2 separate regions of the Homo sapiens genome follow, and region 1 is linked to region 2. Evidence: promoter capture Hi-C in human tissues and cell types (Jung and others, 2019). All regions are on one chromosome and are shown on one strand. Each heading gives the region's core, a stretch centred on a gene start or on the middle of the fragment in contact. The rest is flanking DNA. Distances are from core to core; before and after follow the strand shown.

Region 1 (3,574 bases), core at 705-3,204, 58 kb after region 2:
AGGTAGATTTAGGTCAAGCATTGCATTCCCTGGGAGCCAGTAAGTACCAAGGAGAGAACTAACGTAGATTCTCTATACCTTTTTTCCCATATGGGAGTGGGTTTCTGCCTCTCCACCCTGGGTCCCCTCTGCTCTCTGAAGATCCTCAGTCACTTAGAGTGGAGGGACCCAGAGAACAGGTGGCATTGTTGGACCTCCTGCTTGCTCACTCTGCCCCATGCACTGCAACACGTCCCTCTCTAAAATAGTTTGCACCTGCCCACCTGGGGCACCCTTGCTGAGCACAGATGCCAGGTAGATCCTTCAGCTAGGCCATATGTGTATGTGTGTGCTTACTGGTGTATGTATGTGTGCATGCAGGCATATATGTGTGAGCATGTGTGCATGCATGTATCTGTGTGTAACCATGTATGTGTGAGTGCAGGTATGTAGGTATGAGCATGTGTGTGTATATGTATATGTGTGCATGCATGTATCTGTGTATGTATGTATCTGATGTATGTGGGTGGTGAGGGGATGTACAGAGAGGAATGAGACCCTCTTTTGCTCTCAGCAACATCACAGGGTGTAGAAAGTTGTCCAAACAATTCCAAAGGGGGGCTTATCAAGACAGGGTTCAGAAAAAGGCCTGAGACCCAAGGGACATTAAAGGAGGGGGTTGAATCTATTTTGGGGTGTAGAGGCTTGAAGATTTGACCCTGAACTAGAGGGTGGAGTGGAGGTGGTACAATGTGCTTCCATGCCTTGATGTCCACTCTGAGCCAGTGGACAGGAGAAGCCATGTCATGACAGCTGCTGAGAAGCCTCCCTTCTGCCCAGCCTGGGGGCAGGCCGTCTTACAGCAGTCCTGTGCCCTAGAGCCCAGGACAGGGGAAGAAGGAGGGAAAGGCATCCAGGGCCCTGCATCTGGCCTCTTTCCCACAGGTGAAGAGATCAGCGTGGTCCCCAATCGGTGGCTGGATGCCAGCCTGTCCCCCGTCATCCTGGGTGTCCAGGGTGGAAGCCAGTGCCTGTCATGTGGGGTGGGGCAGGAGCCGACTCTAACACTAGAGGTGAGACTTGGGGCATCCTCACTGGGGACTCAGCCACAGATGCTGAGCCTACTGAAGCCGGGCAGCCCACAGCCCTGGTGCTGTGGGACACCCTAGCAGGATTCTGTTGATGGCAGCTTTGCCTCCTCCCTAAGGATCCTGCCCAGCCCTCCCTCTGCCCCTGCTTCTGCCCTCACCTGACCTCCCCTCCTCTGCCGGCAGCCAGTGAACATCATGGAGCTCTATCTTGGTGCCAAGGAATCCAAGAGCTTCACCTTCTACCGGCGGGACATGGGGCTCACCTCCAGCTTCGAGTCGGCTGCCTACCCGGGCTGGTTCCTGTGCACGGTGCCTGAAGCCGATCAGCCTGTCAGACTCACCCAGCTTCCCGAGAATGGTGGCTGGAATGCCCCCATCACAGACTTCTACTTCCAGCAGTGTGACTAGGGCAACGTGCCCCCCAGAACTCCCTGGGCAGAGCCAGCTCGGGTGAGGGGTGAGTGGAGGAGACCCATGGCGGACAATCACTCTCTCTGCTCTCAGGACCCCCACGTCTGACTTAGTGGGCACCTGACCACTTTGTCTTCTGGTTCCCAGTTTGGATAAATTCTGAGATTTGGAGCTCAGTCCACGGTCCTCCCCCACTGGATGGTGCTACTGCTGTGGAATCTTGTAAAAACCATGTGGGGTAAACTGGGAATAACATGAAAAGATTTCTGTGGAGGTGGGGTGGGGGAGTGGTGGGAATCATTCCTGCTTAATGGTAACTGACCAGTGTTACCCTGAGCCCCGCAGGCCAACCCATCCCCAGTTGAGCCTTATAGGGTCAGTAGCTCTCCACATGAAGACCTGTCACTCACCACTATGCAGGAGAGGGAGGTGGTCATAGAGTCAGGGATCTATGGCCCTTGGCCCAGCCCCACCTCCTTCCCTTTAATCCTGCCACTGTCATATGCTACCTTTCCTATCTCTTCCCTCATCATCTTGTTGTGGGCATGAGGAGGTGCTGATGTCAGAAGAAATGGCTCGAGCTCAGAAGATAAAAGATAAGTAGGGTATGCTGATCCTCTTTTAAAAACCCAAGATACAATCAAAATCCCAGATGCTGGTCTCTATTCCCATGAAAAAGTGCTCATGACATATTGAGAAGACCTACTTACAAAGTGGCATATATTGCAATTTATTTTAATTAAAAGATACCTATTTATATATTTCTTTATAGAAAAAAGTCTGGAAGAGTTTACTTCAATTGTAGCAATGTCAGGGTGGTGGCAGTATAGGTGATTTTTCTTTTAATTCTGTTAATTTACCTGTATTTCCTAATTTTTCTACAATGAAGATGAATTCCTTGTATAAAAATAAGAAAAGAAATTAATCTTGAGGTAAGCAGAGTAGACATCATCTCTGATTGTCCTCAGCCTCCACTTCCCCAGAGTAAATTCAAATTGAATCGAGCTCTGCTGCTCTGGTTGGTTGTAGTAGTGATCAGGAAACAGATCTCAGCAAAGCCACTGAGGAGGAGGCTGTGCTGAGTTTGTGTGGCTGGAATCTCTGGGTAAGGAACTTAAAGAACAAAAATCATCTGGTAATTCTTTCCTAGAAGGATCACAGCCCCTGGGATTCCAAGGCATTGGATCCAGTCTCTAAGAAGGCTGCTGTACTGGTTGAATTGTGTCCCCCTCAAATTCACATCCTTCTTGGAATCTCAGTCTGTGAGTTTATTTGGAGATAAGGTCTCTGCAGATGTAGTTAGTTAAGACAAGGTCATGCTGGATGAAGGTAGACCTAAATTCAATATGACTGGTTTCCTTGTATGAAAAGGAGAGGACACAGAGACAGAGGAGATGCGGGGAAGACTATGTAAAGATGAAGGCAGAGATCGGAGTTTTGCAGCCACAAGCTAAGAAACACCAAGGATTGTGGCAACCATCAGAAGCTTGGAAGAGGCAAAGAAGAATTCTTCCCTAGAGGCTTTAGAGGGATAACGGCTCTGCTGAAACCTTAATCTCAGACTTCCAGCCTCCTGAACGAAGAAAGAATAAATTTCGGCTGTTTTAAGCCACCAAGGATAATTGGTTACAGCAGCTCTAGGAAACTAATACAGCTGCTAAAATGATCCCTGTCTCCTCGTGTTTACATTCTGTGTGTGTCCCCTCCCACAATGTACCAAAGTTGTCTTTGTGACCAATAGAATATGGCAGAAGTGATGGCATGCCACTTCCAAGATTAGGTTATAAAAGACACTGCAGCTTCTACTTGAGCCCTCTCTCTCTGCCACCCACCGCCCCCAATCTATCTTGGCTCACTCGCTCTGGGGGAAGCTAGCTGCCATGCTATGAGCAGGCCTATAAAGAGACTTACGTGGTAAAAAATGAAGTCTCCTGCCCACAGCCACATTAGTGAACCTAGAAGCAGAGACTCTGTGAGATAATCGATGTTTGTTGTTTTAAGTTGCTCAGTTTTGGTCTAACTTGTTATGCAGCAATAGATAAATAATATGCAGAGAAAGAGAAACAAATGCATTTGTTTTATTATTGCAATTT
Region 2 (4,035 bases), core at 281-2,780:
TATCATTTCTGCTGTTAATATTCAGTCCTCTTCAACTAGGGCACAAAAAGATTAGTTTTTTCCTTGCAAAGTGATGTGGATGGTCTGCTGCTGCAGGTGCTATTTTCAATATTGTCTCACTTCTTAAAATGAGTTATCCATTGTAAACTGCTGATTTCTTTGGGTCATTGTCCCCACAAACTTTTTATAAGCCATCAATGATTTCACCATTCTTCCACCCAAGTTTCACCATAAATTTGATTTTTGTTCTTGCTTCAATTTTAGAAGAATTCATGTTGATCTTATAGGGGCTCTTTTCAAACTGATGTCTTACCTTTCTTAGTGCCTCAAACTAGATCCTGTTCAAACACCTTATAACAAGTTAGTAGGAGTTTATTTTGGTGCAAAATAATTCAAAATCCATGCATAGTTTTTTTCATAATATGCATTTTCCATGAACTTTTTGATGACCTCTTGTATGAAAGGGGATTTATTAGGGGAATGAACTCATGCAATTTTGGAGGCTGAGAAATCCCATGACAGACCACCTGCAAGCTGGAGACCCTGGGATGCAGGTAACATGCTCAGTTCAAGTCCTAAAGCCTCAGAACTAGGAAGCCACTGGTGTAATTCTCACTTTGGGATAGAAAGCCTGAGAACCCAGGGAGATGCTGATATTAAGTCCTGGAGTCCAAAGTCTGGAGTTATAATGTCCAAAGGCAGGAGAGAATGCCCCAGCTCCAGGAGAGACAGAAAATCACCTTTTCTCTGTCTTTTCCATGCCATCCATGCCCCCGGCCAGTTGGATGGATCCCACCTACGTTGAGGGTAGATGTTCCCCACTAGTACACTGACTTACACACCAATCTTCTTTGGAAACACCCTCATAGACTTACCCCAAACTAATGTATTACCAGTTCTTTAAGTATTCCTTAAACCAGTCAAATTGACACTTAAAATTTACTATCACGCTACCTATACTAGAGATAGTGATCTAGAGTCCATTGAGGTGGCTAGAGTGCTCAGGAGCTGGCTTTGCTACAGTAATACTCCCTTCTTCCATGGAGAAGCAGCATGCACAGTGGCTCTGAGAAGCTGGAGGAGGGTCACTGGAGTGAGTGGGCTTCTGGTCTGAAATTGACCAAGAATATAGTTCCTGTGGACCAGGAGTGATTAGAAGCTACAGAGGTCTTAAGAGACCTATCCCTCCTCAGTCTACCTTGCACTTACTGAGGGCTCCCACTCTTAGGAATAATTCCATCGTTTCATTTTGTGGCATCAGAGATGAGTCATTGACCCGGAAGAAGTCCCGTAATGTTTCTCAACTCAGTATCTGTGACTATATTTCCTGCTCTTAAAAGTTTAGCATGCCCTCATGTTTCAGGTTGCTTGGAGAAGTCTTAACCATGCTGTTCACATAAAGAGTCACTAAATCCTCTGGCATCAGGAACTAGAAAATATCCTGAGTGTTGGGCAGTGCCAGACTTAGTGAGGCAGAACTTCCTTCCTTGCCCATGTGGATAAAAGGCCTGGGCCCTGTTACAGCCTGTCAGAAAACCCAAGTGCAGTAGAAGCCATTGTTCATAATGGTAGGGATACAGGGTCCTTCGTAACAGATTATCAGTGTGGCCTATGCTGGAAAGTCTGGTGACCTCTGATTTTTTTTGCTTCCAGGTCTTTGGCCTTGGCACTCTTTGTCATATTAGAGTTCCTGGGTCTAGGCCTGGGCAGGATTCATAGGTGCAGCTGCTTCTGCTGGAGGTAGACTGCATCCAACAAAGTAAGGGTGCTGGGTGAGTTCTGGGAGTATAGATTCTGACTGGGGTCACTGCTGGGCTGGCCGCCAGTCTTTCATCTGACCCAGGGTTAAACTGTGGCTTGGGACTGACTCAGGTCCTCTCTTGGGGTCGGTCTGCACATAAAAGGACTCCTATCCTTGGCAGTTCTGAAACAACACCACCACAATGGAAAAAGGTAAAGATCCTCGTGGAAGGGCGAAAAATTGACAAGGGGGTGATATTCTGTGCTCTCATTCTTACTAATTTACATTTTGACTTTCTCAACAGCATTGAAAATTGACACACCTCAGCAGGGGAGCATTCAGGATATCAATCATCGGGTGTGGGTTCTTCAGGACCAGACGCTCATAGCAGTCCCGAGGAAGGACCGTATGTCTCCAGGTGAGTAGCCACGGTCTGTGAAAGGCAGCTCCTTTGGCCAGTGCTGTTGTGTGTTTGGTGCTCAGATGTTATTCCACAGTGGGCTTGTTAACCGGGCATATCTACAGAGAGGAGCATCTCACAGACAATAATGAATAGAGGGTGAGCATAAGGTTGTTCTGGGACTATGGTCATGAAGTCAGAGAAGAGAGAGAAGGCTTAAGGGAGACTGAAGGGTCAGCCTATGAAAAACAGTGGAAGACGTATTCTGAGAAACTTCAAGGAGTAAGAGTAGGACAAAAGAGGGTAATCTATGGGAGGACCAGTTTTTGAATCCATGAAAGACTGACTTTTCTAATGGAAAGTGTTCCCCAAACATAGGATGGGTGTCCCGGTTAGGTGGTGGGTGGTGAGGTGACCATTCTATGAGTGCACTGTGAGTGTCAGTTAGCAGATTCCCTTAAAACTCTGGCTCAGAGGTACCACCCTGGAAATGGCAGCTGAACACCACTTTTCACATCGTGTTCCCAGTCACTATTGCCTTAATCTCATGCCGACATGTGGAGACCCTTGAGAAAGACAGAGGGAACCCCATCTACCTGGGCCTGAATGGACTCAATCTCTGCCTGATGTGTGCTAAAGTCGGGGACCAGCCCACACTGCAGCTGAAGGTGAGTGTGGAAGACAGGTCCTGCCATTTATTTGATGGAAACTCAGATTTCAGGATCTTTTAAAAGACAATGTACTTATTATGCTCATGCATTTTTATTTTTGGTTTCCTTGGGGTTGGTATATGTTATGAAAGACTAAGAAAAATTGCAGGGACATTTTGAAACAAACCTACTAAAATGACTTATTATTTTAATTTACAAAAATATTAATAATTTGGCAAGGATGATGTCTAACTTCAATAGAACACACACACAGAGTAAAATCAGCAAGGACATTTTAGCAGTTAATTATCACAAAGTAGACGAACTTATTAAAACATCTTTTTGGCAAAAAATACATTGCAACTTTAAATGAACAAACATAATTCTCTGTAATAAACACTTCAATAATCGCAATTTTCCATTATTAAAAAAAGATAATTATAGCAGGCCTCTGTGTACTACAGGAACTCTCTTGACCCTTTTCAGTAAACAAGCATAAGCAGACACTCAACTTGATGACAAGATATAAAACAGTGTTTTTCAGCCAGGGGTGATATTGCTCCAGGGACATTTGTCAATGTCTGGAGATGTTTTGGTTGTGACAACCTGGGATGGGGGTGTGATACTTGCATTTATCGGGTAGATGACAGGGATGCTACTAAACATCCTATATTATTATACAGGACAGACCCTGAAAACAAAGAATCATCTTGCCTAAAATGTCAATAGTGCTGAAGGTGCAGAAACCTGACAGAAAATAACTGTTTTAATTTGAAATTTACAGTAACTGTTACATAAATATTCTTTAAGTTTCTGTTTCTGAACAACAAATAATGGCCCAATCAATGCTTTGTATTCTCAAAAACTTTCATGTCAACACATTTTTCAGAGCCTCACATTAAAAACCATTAAAATTTGTAGCCTGAGTTTCAACCATAATCTTAAAAGAATTTAATTTATATGATTTTCAATCCCATAATATGAAACAGAGGTCTCCAAGCTGCTTCAATGAGTAGGGAATGCTATCCTTGGACGTGGAATATCAGTGTGTAAAGAATGTGAAACATTCAAACAGTTATGTTTCTTGCTGGTGTCTCCTTCGCACCCTTCAGGAAAAGGATATAATGGATTTGTACAACCAACCCGAGCCTGTGAAGTCCTTTCTCTTCTACCACAGCCAGAGTGGCAGGAACTCCACCTTCGAGTCTGTGGCTTTCCCTGGCTGGTTCATCGCTGTCAGCTCT

Evidence for each region. Contacts are between HindIII fragments. The study calls those that stand out against the background at their distance.
Region 1: a fragment that was not itself captured here is called in contact with the fragment with the promoter of IL36A in region 2 in 1 of the 25 tissues and cell types used here (aorta).

The regions. Positions count from the first base shown.
Region 1 is chr2:113,061,200-113,064,773 of GRCh38, forward strand. IL36RN (interleukin 36 receptor antagonist) reads left to right here. Exons shown (of 5, transcript NM_012275.3): 4 at 925-1,052; 5 at 1,254-3,545. The coding sequence ends at 1,478. Among named protein-coding and RNA genes, the nearest start is that of IL36RN, 3.8 kb to the left of the region's middle. The HindIII fragment of the contact is 6,121 bases long and covers 1-3,574 here.
Region 2 is chr2:113,003,929-113,007,963 of GRCh38, forward strand. It overlaps IL36A (interleukin 36 alpha), which reads left to right and starts at 1,531. Exons shown (of 4, transcript NM_014440.3): 1 at 1,531-1,953; 2 at 2,046-2,159; 3 at 2,670-2,809; 4 at 3,904-4,035. The coding sequence starts at 1,944. The HindIII fragment of the contact is 9,440 bases long and covers 1-4,035 here.